5 separate regions of the Homo sapiens genome follow, and all the other regions are linked to region 3. The links are contacts of gene promoters, found by promoter capture Hi-C in blood cells and fetal thymus (Javierre and others, 2016). All regions are on one chromosome and are shown on one strand. Each heading gives the region's core, a stretch centred on a gene start or on the middle of the fragment in contact. The rest is flanking DNA. Distances are from core to core; before and after follow the strand shown. Region 1 has its middle 58 kb from the start of CTLA4. Region 2 overlaps CD28 (CD28 molecule). Region 3 holds the start of FAM117B (family with sequence similarity 117 member B). Region 4 has its middle 26 kb from the start of CTLA4. Region 5 overlaps LOC101927840 (a long non-coding RNA gene).

Evidence for each region. The method cuts DNA at HindIII sites, captures the fragments that hold promoters and counts their contacts. A CHiCAGO score of 5 or more calls a contact.
Region 1: a contact is called between a fragment that was not itself captured here and the fragment with the promoter of FAM117B in region 3, in 1 of 17 cell types (fetal thymus). The highest score is 6.0, in fetal thymus.
Region 2: a contact is called between a fragment that was not itself captured here and the fragment with the promoter of FAM117B in region 3, in 1 of 17 cell types (fetal thymus). The highest score is 7.5, in fetal thymus.
Region 4: a contact is called between a fragment that was not itself captured here and the fragment with the promoter of FAM117B in region 3, in 1 of 17 cell types (monocytes). The highest score is 6.6, in monocytes.
Region 5: a fragment that was not itself captured here is called in contact with the fragment with the promoter of FAM117B in region 3 in 1 of 17 cell types (fetal thymus); the score reaches 6.5 in fetal thymus.

What each region holds. Positions count from the first base shown.
Region 1 is chr2:203,808,349-203,811,048 of GRCh38, forward strand. No RefSeq gene overlaps it. Among named protein-coding and RNA genes, the nearest start is that of CTLA4, 58 kb to the right of the region's middle. The HindIII fragment of the contact is 5,785 bases long and covers 1-2,700 here.
Region 2 is chr2:203,716,852-203,719,551 of GRCh38, forward strand. All of the region lies in intron 1 of CD28 (CD28 molecule), which reads left to right. Among named protein-coding and RNA genes, the nearest start is that of CD28, 12 kb to the left of the region's middle. The HindIII fragment of the contact is 663 bases long and covers 966-1,628 here.
Region 3 is chr2:202,633,530-202,636,229 of GRCh38, forward strand. FAM117B (family with sequence similarity 117 member B) reads left to right here and starts at 1,440. Exons shown (of 8, transcript NM_173511.4): 1 at 1,440-2,259. The coding sequence starts at 1,659. RefSeq lists silencers at 1,478-1,707, 1,898-1,947, 2,048-2,487. The HindIII fragment of the contact is 4,588 bases long and covers 1-2,700 here.
Region 4 is chr2:203,892,847-203,895,546 of GRCh38, forward strand. No RefSeq gene overlaps it. Among named protein-coding and RNA genes, the nearest start is that of CTLA4, 26 kb to the left of the region's middle. The HindIII fragment of the contact is 5,290 bases long and covers 1-2,700 here.
Region 5 is chr2:203,933,214-203,935,913 of GRCh38, forward strand. The region is part of intron 3 of LOC101927840 (a long non-coding RNA gene); the gene reads right to left. Among named protein-coding and RNA genes, the nearest start is that of ICOS, 2.2 kb to the right of the region's middle. The HindIII fragment of the contact is 1,448 bases long and covers 726-2,173 here.

The DNA of each region.
Region 1 (2,700 bases), core at 122-2,621, 1.2 Mb after region 3:
CTTTTAAAAAAAAAAAAAAAGATATATCAAAATTCATTTTGTGCCCCTGGCTCTCTGTTGCTAACCTCATTCCCACTTCCGGAGCAGGTGCTCTTTCATCTTTCACACAGTTATTGGAGATGGCATTTCTGATTTAAGACTGTGCATTAGTAAATTAAGGCCATGACCAGTAACATGCACAAAAATAGCGCAACAAGTATAAGCCTTTAAAATAATGTTAAATAATGAAATTCTATTCCTTCATGCTTGTTATCACTGAAATCCATTTTTTGTAGCTTTTAAAAAAATTACAAATCATTAAAAGCAAGGGCTTTTGAAATGCTTCACCCTACAACTATGCTTATAAGAAACACATAGGATATGTTACTAACTGAGCAAGCCGGAAATTAAAAGAAAAATTGTTTAACTTGATAACTTTTTTTAAAAAATCATAAATAATGTTGAATTTTTTCAAGTGGCTTTTGGGCATCTTTCTTGATTATTGTTCAACTTCTTTCCTTTGATCTGTTAACATAGTGAATGTTAATAGATATCTAAATATTAAGCTATCTTTTGACTTCTGGGATCAATACTATTTGTTAATGATAGGGTATTCTTTCAATATTCTATTTGATTTCATTTATTTCCCTTCTGATACTTTTGAGGATAATCTTCTTTTGTATATAGCAAGTTGGGTAGGGACGGTGTTAGTTTCATAATCATTTGATAGATTAGAAAACTGAAACACAGAGATAGTAAATGACTTATTATCTAAGAACAAATGGCAAACAAGTATTTGATTTCTGGCCCAGGGATTTTTGGTCTGTTCTCCACCAGGAAATTAGTGTTTCATCAAGCAAATATGCCATCCACCAAGTATTTCAGATAACCTCACAATATTTCACATAACCTAAGAGTAGTGTCTTCTAGTTTAGCTACATCATTAATGCCATTTAAAATCCTAATTCCTAATGCTCTCCTTTTTTTATTCTCCACAGTGACAGTTGTCATAACTATATCTAACGATTGTGGGACTTGGAGAAAAATGCAGAGTGGAAGCAGGAGGAGGTGAGAATAAGGAGGCCAGAAGGATGGCTGAGTCATTAGCTGAGCTCTCCAACCTCCTCCTGTACTATTCTCCCCTTTACTCACTAACTCTAGCCACACTGGCCTTCCTTTTGTTCTCCGAACTTTCCAAGTCCATTCACGGCTTAGGGCCTTTGCCTTTGCTGTGCCTTCTGTTTAAAATGGTCTGCCCTAGACTTATGCATGGCTGGCTCTTTCCTTTAGTCAGGCCTCAGCTTACATACTACCTCCTCAGAGAGGCCTTCCCTGACCTTCCATCTAATTAGCAGATACCCACTATATAGGTTGCATATCCATAATTCGAAAGTCCCAAATCCAAAAAGTTCCAAAATCTGGAACTTTTTGAGTGCTGACATGATGCTCAAAGGAAATGCTCATTGGAGCATTTTGGATGTCTGATTTTTGGATTAGGGATGCTCTGCATGGGTAAGTATAATGCGAATATCCCCAAATCTGAAAAAAAATATTGAATTCTGAAGTAATTCTGGTCTCAGGCATTTTGGATACAGGATACCTATCCTGTATTAGCTTGCTAGGGCTGCCTAACAAAGTACCACAGACTGAGTGACTTAAACAACAGAAATTGATTATTTCACAGTTCTGGAGGCTGGAAGTCTGAGATCAAGGTGTCAGCAGGTTTGGTTCCTTCCAATGGCTATGAGGGAGACTCTGTCCCAGCGTCTCTCCCTACAGCTTGTTACATCATCTTTTCTTTATGAGTGTCTCTGGGTCCAAATAAGAAGTTTACTGGGAGGTGATCCTGGCAGAGGAGGGGAGGGGTGAGGCAGAGGATAGAAAGAAGCCAACAAAGGGTGTGCACTGTGGACAACTGGAGCTTAATCCTGCTGAGGCCCTCTGGGAGCCAGTGTGGAATACACCCCAGAGTCATCTCCCCCAACGGGCACCCGTGTTCACCAGTGTACCCAATTCCCATCAGCCATGGTTGGTCTGCTCTGGGGTGCTCATGGGTGGAGAGCTGCTCATGACTCTGGTGGCTAGAGAAAGGCCACAGACAAAGAGTTGGTGGGCTGCTGGAAATCCAGTCCACCAGTGCCCACTGAAAGATAAGGCCTGAAGGAGTAAAGACAGGGCAGTGACTGTGTCAGCTACTGATTGACACAGTGGCTGATGGGCTACAGTAGATTGATGGGTGTGTGGCTGGGGCAGAGAGGCAGTGAAGCTATGAGGAAAAATTTTCCCTACTTTCTCCCCTAGGAAGTAGAGGAAAAGTTCTTTTTTTTTTTGTGACACAGAGTCTCCCTCTGTTGCCCAGGCTGTAGTGCAGTGGCGCGATCTCTGCTCACCGAAACCTCCGCATCCTGGATTCAAGCAATTCTCCTGCCTCAGCCTCCTGAGTAGCTGGGATTACAGGCATGCACCACCATGCCCGGCTAATTTTTTTGTGTGTTTTTAGTAGAGACAGGGTTTCACCATATTGGCCAGGCTGGTCTGGAACTTCTGACCTAGTGATCTGGCCGCCTCGGCCTCCCAAAGTGCTGGGATTACAGGCATGAGCCACTGAACCCGGCCAAGGAAAAGTTCTTGATGAACATCCTCTTGAAGACTATTTTGAATAGGTAATACTCCACATTGTATACAATTCGAGTATAAAAGTACACAGTGAAAAGTGTAAGT
Region 2 (2,700 bases), core at 47-2,546, 1.1 Mb after region 3:
ATGGGGTCTCACTTTGTTGCTCAGGCTGGAGTGCAGTGGTACAATCACCACTCACTGCAGCCTTGACCTCCTGGGCTCAAGTGATCCTCCCACCTCAGCCTCCCAAGGAGCTGGGACTACAGGCACATGCCACCACAGCCAGGTACCCCCACACCCAGCTAATTTTTGTATTTTTTGTAGAAATGGGGTCTCGCCATGTTGCCCAGGCTGGTTTCCATCTCCTGGGTTCAAGCGATCCACCTGTGTCATCCTCCCAAAGTGCTAGGAGTACAGGTGTAATCCACTGTGCCAGGCCTTTAGTAAATTTATTAATCAGGATTCTATTTCTATTTATATTGTTACCTATAATCATTTGTCCTTGTTCAAACTAAAACCTCTTTAGATTTTGTTTTAAAACCATACTTTCTGTCAAGAACAGTTAATGTGCTTGGTATAACTGATAGTTGTGATATACACAATCTTGGCCAAAGCTGGTTGCTTGGTCTGCTTCTCTTGATGGAAGTCATTGCTTCTGTCATGGTGGCCTCCACTACACAACTCTCTTGCCTTCTGGTTCTGGTAACTTCGCTGTCCCCTGGTCTCTTTCGACCTAAGGGTGGTCATAATTCTGCTGCTGCAAGTCACAGGCTCTGGCACTACCCCTCGTGGTTCTGCTCTTGCCACACCTTTGCCAACAGTCCTTTCATAAATAACCTTCCTACTCTTGCCCAATTTTGTGTGTGCCATCTGTTTTCATTTGGGATCTGGAATGAGACAACATATAGTTGGCCCACTGTATCCACGGGTTATGCATCTTTGGATTCAATGAACCATGGATCAAAAACAGTATTTGTGGGATGCAGAATCTATGGATACAGAGGACCAACAATTGCATGACTTGAGCTTCCATGGATTTTGGTATCTGCAGGGGTCCTGGAACCAACACCCCATGGATCCAGAGGACCACTGTATATGCATGTTTATCAAGCTTATTCAAAGCCCCCTTTTTCTGTGTGAAGAGATTTTCCTTAAATCTTCATTTCTTGTGAAAATGGGAAGACTTTCAAGATAACAGTCAACAGAAAACTAGATGAAATGACCACAGAATTATTTTTAAACCATAACTTGCATTATTATCATTATTATTACCATTTTTTCATTTTAACATGAATTTCTGGGAGAGAGAGGCTGGGTCCATTCAAAGCATGGTAGGTCATGAATAGCTTTGTTTTTATCTTCATTGCAGCTCAGAGAGGATGGTGAAAGGTGCTACAGTCTGGTGAATGTTTTGTACTTCTCTTTCTCTTATCAGAAGGAAGCCAGGCCACCAGCTAAGGTTATCAGAGCCATAGACTGTTGAGTCCCCCTTTCTTCTCAGGGAGCACGGTTTGTCTCACAGTTTCCTGAGCAACCACCGGGTTGTCTTGTGGGGGAGCCTACCCCTTACAGAGCCTGAAAAGGAGCCAGTGGTCAGATGGTCACGTGTTGAAGGGCATCCTGGGCCTGAACAGGAAATATACTCAGAGGAAAGTTACAGTAACTTAACTAGCTCTGTGGTCAGGAGGGAGGTGCTCTTCTATGCCAGGGAAATCAGCATCACCTTCACAGTGTGCTCACAAATATCACAGGGCAAAATGGCTGAAAGTAGAAGCTTTCATTGTTTTTGGTTCCTACCTAACATGTGAAATTCTGTTCAGTCCGAATTTTTAAAAGGAAACAAGATAATTAGAATCTTACAACCTGATTTTTCAACTGCAAAAGAAAGTCAGACTATGATGTGCATAAATGGAACCTGATAAAGTTCTTAAAGATTCTGGAGGAAAATCACATTTTGCTAATTAATCATGTATTCCAGCTCTCTAACTGCTTCTTTAGCTTCCCAGTACGTTTTATTTCTCTATGGTGCTACGATAAAGAAAAGGAAAAACTATGACAAACAAATGTAATTCACAAAAGCCCTGAAGTTAAGGATTTTCCTAGTGAAGTTCAGACTGAAATGTGATTTCATGTGTTGACTCATGTCTATGTTCAATCCCTTTTGTATACTTGGGTAAGCTAGAATGGAAGATCTCAATGGTATAATTATTACTTGTGCATCAGAAATAATTTATAAGATTATTTGATGTGATCATACTGTCTGTAAGCCTTATCTGGGATCCATCTATGACCTTCAGGAAATCTTCAAAATTGTAAGCAAAATGTTTTGTATATGTGCATTAGAGGCAAAAAATTTGGAAATGTATTTTTTTCTAGATATGAGCATGAAATAAATTCAGTCTTGCTGAATGAACAAAGTTGTTTTTCTGTCCATTTATGATTTAAAACATTACTCCTAGATGTCTAAATAAATAAATTACATCTTAGCTCTTCCATTATTTGTGTGACCTTGTTTGAAAAGTCATTTACTTCTTCTCTTTTTTTCCCCCCAATAGCCTCTTCTTTAAAATAAGGAATTGGCATAGATCATCTCCAAGTTCCCTTCCAGTTGAGTGTGGTTTTTTGCAGGATAAGACTCTAATAAAATAGTGGGGAAAATGAAATGTATTTTGTTCTGGTCCTCTTCCCATTCCATTCACTCCCCTACTTAATGGTAATCTCCTCCCTAACCCTCACTCCAGACATCTGGTACCATCCTCCCTATCAAGTCCAACTTTGAGAGGATCTAGAACCAATCACTGCAATTGTGTTGAAATTTTGATGCAACATGGCAGAAGGAAATGA
Region 3 (2,700 bases), core at 190-2,689:
CACCTCACGCCTGTAATTCCAGCATTTTTGGAGGCCGAGGTGGGCGGATCATGAGATCAAGAGATCAAGACCACCCTGGCCAACATGGTGAAACCGCCTCTTTACTAAAAACAGAAAAATTACGGGGCGTGGCGGCACGCGCCTGTAATCCCAGCTACTTGGGAGGCGGAGGCAGGAGAATTGCTTGAACGCGGGAGGCGGAGGTTGCACTGAGCCGAGATTCGAGCCAGTGCACTCCGCCACTGCACTCCAGCCTAGGTGACAGAGAGAGACTTCTTCTCAAAAAAAAAAAAAAAAGGCCTTCCACCACCGCGCAAAGGGACCCAGTAGGATTTCAGGTCCAGAGTGAATCATACTATGCCCTCCACTCCCACATTTTTACACGACGAAATCTGTCTAGCATGTACAACTAATAAAAATAGTAGAGGGAAAAGAGGTCATGGATAGGCAATTTATAGCCAGACAGGTGGGAGTGTAGGTTTTGGCTCCACCATTTTTTATTTTCTTGATGAGGAGCCCTTTAGGTCATTTTAGAAATAGTGTCACTGCCTGCCTTCCCGAGTCTTTGCCACACCAAAGACTTGTTTCCTCCGCTAGACAAAAATATGGATGGCTGTCCCAGTTCTGTCTCAAACAATGATCGTGTAGAATCAAATAAGGCCCTCTGTAAACTATAGCACTTTACAAACTGGTAAGGTAGCAGCCATCCTTCCAAGGTATCAGGGAACAGCGAAGCAGCTGATTAAAATAGTCTTGATTACTTGAGATACAGGAGGGTAGGAATAACATGTGGTAACTGAACTCTATAGATACTATCTAAAATCGCATTCTAACAGGCAAGTTTAATCTTTCTGAGATTTGCCTCTTTGTAGAGCTCTAAAAAATAAAAGGAGAGGGGCGTAAAATGCCAGTAAGATTAGTTAAATTTCTTCTCCTTTTGAGCCCTGCCCATAGGTAGATGGAATTAGGGCAGAACAAAAACATTAAGAATAAAAGCCCGAACGAGATGCGCGTACAGGTGAACACAAGTGAACACTGGGGTAAGGAAATGAGTTATGCGGAAAAGGCTTCAGACCATCCCTGGGAACTGCTCCGGGTCTGGACATTTCCTTTGGCAACCTTCCAGAGTCTGAGTCCCCAGGGCTCCCCCCGGCGGGAAAGGAAAGGCGCGCGTGGCTAGGCGCGCGCGTACACGGGCACTCACGTGTACACACACACGCGCGCACACTACACATACACACAGGGCCCATTTCCTCCGCTCCCTCCCCGCGGGGGGCGGGTCTCTTTCTCTTTAAAGAGCAGACGGTCTCCGCGCACACCCAGGCTCTCAAGGCCTCGGGGGCCCGGGACCCGAGCTGCTCGTAGCCAATGGGAGCAGTGGAGCGGCTCGAGCGCGGCTGACGCTGCACCAATGGGCGATCGTGGGGGGCGGGGGCAGCAGAGGAGACACTATTGTTGATGAGGAGCGGCGGCGGCGGCGGCGGCGGCTGCACCACCTCGTTGCTGCCTGCCCCGGCCCGGTCTCCCCCTGCACCCCGGAGTCCGGCTTCGTCACCCCGTCTTGGGGGGCCTGCCCTCCGGCCTCGAGAATCCTCCCCCTGCAGCCCAACAACAACAAAACCCCCCGTCTCGCCCAGTCACCGGGGAGGGGGGGGACCATGTCCCAGCGGGTGAGGCGCAATGGGTCCCCCACGCCGGCCGGCTCCCTTGGGGGTGGTGCGGTGGCCACGGCCGGGGGACCCGGGAGCCGCTTGCAGCCCATGAGGGCGACGGTTCCGTTCCAGCTGAAGCAGCAGCAGCAGCAGCAACATGGCAGCCCCACGCGGAGCGGCGGCGGCGGCGGCGGCAACAACAACGGTGGCTGCTGTGGTGGCGCCTCAGGCCCCGCAGGCGGCGGCGGCGGCGGTGGCCCGCGCACCGCCTCGCGCAGCACCAGCCCCACGCGCGGCGGCGGGAACGCGGCCGCGCGCACCAGCCCCACGGTGGCCACGCAGACGGGCGCGTCCGCGACGTCCACGCGAGGCACCAGCCCCACGCGCAGCGCCGCGCCTGGAGCTCGCGGGAGCCCCCCACGGCCGCCGCCGCCGCCGCCGCTGCTGGGCACCGTGTCGTCGCCCAGCTCGTCGCCCACCCACCTGTGGACCGGCGAGGTGAGCGCGGCCCCACCCCCAGCCCGCGTCCGGCATCGGAGGAGGTCTCCGGAGCAGAGCCGAAGCTCGCCGGAGAAGAGGAGCCCCAGCGCCCCGGTTTGCAAAGCAGGTAAGTGCTGGGGGTCGCGCAGCAAGGGGGAGGCGGCTGCGGGAAGGGGTCCCGGGCGCGCGCTGCAATCGCGCGGGGACTGCAGAGCTGCCGCGGAGCCCGGGTGGCTGGGGGCGGGGCTGGGGGCGGTGCCGGGCGGTGGGGGACCCGGCAGTGCGGCCCCGCCTTTCCCGGGCCTACCCTACGCCCCGCCCGCCCGCCCGCCTCATTCACCCCTCTGCCCGCCCCGCACGGCTCCCTGGTGGTGGAGGTGCAGCGGCTAAACCTTGGGCTTGAGCTGATGAGTGTTAATGATAAACCTGGCTTCCTGGCCTTACTCCTGGAGGAGTCGTTACTGCTTACCCTCCCTTGAGGGTGAGGCTAGGAGTGGTTTGTCACTTTGTTTTAGGGACAAGGTTAATGTTGGCATAGCCCATATCTGCTGCTGCTAAGTATTTCTGT
Region 4 (2,700 bases), core at 86-2,585, 1.3 Mb after region 3:
CCCAAAGTGCTGGGATTCAGGCATGAGTGACCGCGCCTGGCCCATCTCATTTTTTAAAGGACAGAAAGATGAAATGCTTTGCCTCAAATTGTCTAGTCCATGGTGAGAGTGGAGCTAAACCCATTTTGGGGGTCCCTGTCCCTTGTGCTCTCTAGGATGTTCTGTATACTGCAAACATATTTAGCAATTTGGTTATTTTAAGAATAAGAACAAACTGAAAAAGATCATCTTTATCGATGCTAATACATTAACATATTTTTTTTGTTTGTTTTTGCAACAGGGTCTTGCTCTGTTGCCCAGTCTGGAGTACAGTGGCATGATCTAGGCTCATTGTAACCTCTACCTTCTGGGTTCAATTGATTCTCATGCCTCAGCCTCCTCAGTAGCTGGAATTACAGGAGTGCACCACCACACCTGGCTAATTTTTGTATTTTTAGTAGAGATGGGGTTTTGCCATATTGGCCAGGCTGGTCTTGAACTCCTGGCCTCAAGTGATCTGCCTGCCTTGGCCTCCCAAAGTGCTGGGATTACAGGCATGAGCCACCGTGACTGGCCCACTGACAAATTTTAACAGGTTTCAAAGACAAAAACCCTTTGTCTATGTAACTATTCCCTGGCAGTTTATTTCCTAGATGTCATCTAAGGACTTGGATTGCACAAAGTGAATCACCATTGTGTTCTCAGACTCAGAAGCTCAGGCCAGCTGCATGGCCAGATGGCCCAGTGGCCCCACAGACCCTATCCTTCTGGCTTGAGAGAAAGAGAAGCAAAGCAGAGAGAGAGAGAGAGAAAAATTATAGCCAGTGGCTGCTGCAAATCCAGCTGTTGATCCTATTCCAGACATGAGCACAATGATCATCTGGCTGCCAAAAGAATAACACATATTCTAGCCAGGGAGAACTGCCAAGGATCTGATGAGGGTTTGCTTCCATACATGTGTATTGTCTCATGAGCATCCAGAAGATGGATGAAGCTCAGTTTACTTTTTTTCTTCAGTATTATTTGAAGAATACATTTTGTGATTTTGTTACGCCTTTTGCTACTCCAAGTGTGATTTGTGGACGAGCGGCATCAGTGTCACTCACAGCAGGTTAGAACTGCAGAATCTTGGGACCCACTTCAAACCCAGTGACTCAGCTTCTGCATTTTAACAAGATCCCTGGGCGATTCGCATGCACCTTACGGTGGAGAAGCAGAGTGGAAAGCACACCATGACAGGTCATAGGACTGGGCCAATAGGAATTGGTTGGAAAACTCAGTGGTGGCCAGCATTGAGTGATGGCAAGAAGACCAGACTGAGATAGGAGACCTGGGTTCTAGACCCAATTCTACCACTTCCGTCTGTCTGACCCTGGGAAATCACTCCCTGTCTTGAAGCACTGATTTCCTCATCTTTAAAATGGGAAAAATATCTGACTTGCTTATTGCAGGGCTGTGGTAAGGATCAAATGAGATACTTCATCAGCAAAATGATCTGTGAGATATAATGCACTTTTCAAATGCAAGGGGCTGACAATTGTCATTGTTCAGATCTACCTAAAATGGAATTTGGGCTTTTTGACTTGTGAAATGAGTCACTGAACCATTCTAAGTTAACTATGAAGAATATGTACGTGACATGCAAGAGCAGGAAACACCTCTGAGCCACTTTCCTCAGAGATGAGCACAGGATTCTAATTTTACAAATGGATACAGGGAGGCCCTATTTATGAAGTTAGCAGTGGTTCCCCACCTGAGTTGTTCATTACAACTACCTGGGGAATCTTCTCAAAAATACCCTTGCTTAGGGGTGGGTACAGGGGCTCACACCTGTAATTCCAGCACTTTGAGAGTCTGAAGCAGAGGCTTGCTTGAGCCCAGGAGTTCAAGACTAGCCTGGGCAAGAAAGTGAGACCCATCTCTACAAAAAAGTTAGAAATTAGCTGGGTGTAGTGGTGCGCACCTGTAGTCCCAGCTACTCGGGAGTCTGAGGCAGGAGGATTGCTTGAGCCTGGGAGTTCCAGGGTGCAATGAGCTATAATTGCATCATTGCACTCTTGTCTGGGTGACAGAGTGAGACCCTGTCTGAAAACACACACACACACACACACACACACACACACACACACATCCCCACAACAACAACACAAAAAACTGCTGCTTGGGTCCCAACATAGACCAGTTATAGACCAATTGAATTAGAACCACCAGTGCTGGGACATAAACGTTATTTTTTAAAAACTCCCCAGTTGATTCTAATGTGCAGCTAGAGTTGACCATTGCAGATAAAGCGCTACATCAGAACGAGTTTCTAGGTACAATTGAACCCTTCTTCTCGTTGCCAACTGTGGGATAAAATTAGGAAAGGGAAACACTTCTGCTTTCCCCCTTCATGTTTCAAGAATCCCTCTTAAGGTAATTCATTAGAATTTAGAATTTGAACTTGGTGAGTGTTTCTTCTTTGCCCTGTTCGTCTGGCTGATGAACTTGGTGAATTTTAAAGCAAATAATAAGCCGGTTGTGGTGACATGTGCCTGTAGTCCCAGCTACTTGGGAGGCTGAGGCAGGTGGATTGCTTGAGCCCAGGAGTTTGAGGCTACAGTGAGCTATAATTGTGCCACTGCACTACAGCCTGGGTGACAGAATAAGATTCTGTCTCTAAAAAAAAAAAAAATAATAAAAGAAGATAATAATGAGCACTAGGAACTCTGAGCACAAGGA
Region 5 (2,700 bases), core at 200-2,699, 1.3 Mb after region 3:
AGAGGAGCATTGGGAGGTTGCAGAAAAGCCACTAAATGGACACTAGTTATGGGGGTGGTTGGGAGTGAATGACATTGGTTTGATGTCTTTGATGAATCGATGGGTATGGAAGCAAAGGCCTGAAGAATGGTGGAATATCTGCCAAAGAAGGTAGGCTAGAGTGGTGAGGAGGGGAAGCACAGACAAAATGATGGCTCCTGGCAGTAGAAGGAAGAGTTAGTTTGGGGAATTTGGAGAACTTCATGTCATTCAACGTGATGGAAACATTTGGTACAGAAGGAAGAAAGAACAAATGTGGCAAGAGATGAGGCCGAACTGGGGAAGGAGTTGCCCTTCATAAGGAATCTTGAAGGGGTGTGGGCCTTACCTAAGAGAGGAAGCCAGTGGAGGATCCTGGGTGGGGCGGGGACACAGATGAATTCTATTTACATTTTACAAAGATTACTCTGGTTGTAGCATGAAGACAGACCAAAATGGGACAAGGGTGGGAATAGAAATGACAGAGGCCTGATCTAAGTCAGTGACCTTGGCAAGCGAGGAGGAAAAAATACTTGAGAGACAGTTAGGAAGTAGAGTAATTGGGGTTTATCGGTGAATCAGCAGGAAAAGGGAGAAGGCTGGTTGGTGGTACCACTCAACAGTATAGGCAAGGTAGGAGTTGAAGCAATTGTGATTAGGAAGGACCTCTCACTTTTGATGCTTGTCCCTTTCAGAATGGCAAACCAAGCTTAGGTGAAGCCTAGATATTTGGGGGTTACTTTCTAACCCTATTGCTTGGACTCAACCATGCTGGTGTCTGAGCTCCTCTACTCAGACAAATGTTGCTTTCAGTAAGTTGCAAGCAAAGCAAAAGAAAGACATTCACCTACGGCCCTTCAGAAAAGCAAGCATGCTGCATGATGAACTCTGGTGCCCAGGAGGCAAGAAATAAAAAACACTTTTAATGTAACCAACTTTCCATGCCCCACCCTCACCCCAGGCGTCTGCATACACAAATCAAAACCATCTTAAGTCATGGAATGAAAAAAAATTAAAAGCAAACTAAAAGCACTTCCTGTGAGGTGAATGGAAATTTTTGCCCAGTTAATTTTCCAGGCACGTGAAAGCAGTTCTGAATATTTTAAACCACAAGTACTTGTATTCTTGACCAAGATTTTTGAGAAGGCGAGGCATGGGAAGGATCATTGAAACAGGACTTTGACATAAAACATTGTTTACATAGAAGTGAGCTCTTCTCCACTATCGGATCAATTTACCACCCAGTGTCTGACAAACTGAGAAGCGAGAGGGTTGGGAAAAAGCAAAGAGATACATATCAAACAAAACCACACATATCCAGTTGAACTAAAGCTGAATTTAACCATAACTTGTGCAACTTTTCTCCCCTTGAGGTAGAAACATTACACCTCCAATTGACCAGGACATCTTTTTTTGCATTCAAATTATCTTGGAATTTCCTCTAGGACCTAAGTATCCTTCCACCATGAAAATAGGAGACCAAAAAAAGTAATGCTTCCAGTAATTTCTAGCCAAATAAATGAGGATAAGTGTGTGAGTGTGGTGGGGTAGTTAAGAGTTTGGAATCCAGAGTTTCACTGTCTGGATTTGAACAGGCTCCGTTGCTCATCAGCTCTGTGACTCCGGGCAAATGACTGAATCTCTCTAACTCTCAGTTTTCTCATCTATGAAATGAGAATAAGTAACAGACTCTCCCTCGCTGAGTTGTTTGAGAACGGGATCAGACAATGCACGTGGAGCCCCGTGTCTGGCACACACTATGTCCTCATTGCATATTTATTATTAGGTTTCTGCTTTGTATTTTTCTCTGTGCAACAGCCCTGAGCTCTAGAACTTATGACAGCTTTTCTCAAGTGAAGTTAAAGTTCCCCATACTCAGTTCCAGAGCTAGGCCTCACCTAGGTTGGAAGAAGTCAATTGTTCTCCACTGCCTGCCTGTGTGCTGGGAAAGGACTCTAGCACAGTGCCGGTGGGGCTGGAAGCCTTTCCTCATGATGCTACGGGGAGTACAGTGAAAAGGGAGGAGATTGGGGTAGCAAGGTCCCAGGGGTCCTGGCAGCCCAGGCTCTACTTCTCAGGCTAGCTCAGTCCCTCAAACAGCTTCCTTCACACCCACTGCTGAGACCCAGGAGCCCTACAGAAGGTAGCTAGGGGAAGCTTCAGCAGCTAGGGGGATCCCTGCAGGATCAGCCTCCTCCTTACCTTGCAGACCCCTTGGCTGTGGTCTGGCATTCCTAGTGGCTGGCCTAAAGCCCCAAACCTGGAATCTGTTTCAGAGCCTGGACCTTTTGGACTCACACCTTGGTTTCCCTGGCCAGCTGATTTCAGCTTCTCATCTAAATGTCATTTCTGCAGGCTAAGGGAAGTCCAGCCTGGATCTAGCATCTTGGAAGCGCGTTCAGACTTCTGGATGGAGGGATCAGCAGGCCTTGGTATTGGTGGTTCTACCTGCTTCGGTTAAGAGTGAGGACTCTGGAGCCAGACTCTCTAAATCATAGCACTGACACTTACTATATGACTTGGGCCAGGTTCGTTACCTGTCTGTGCCTCAGTTTTCCTCATCTGTAAAATGGGAGATTAGTGGTCACCATTGGGATGATTAAGAAGATTAAATGAGTTAATGTATGTATAAACTATAGTTATAATGTAAATATATATACAAACAGTAACCATTTACATGCA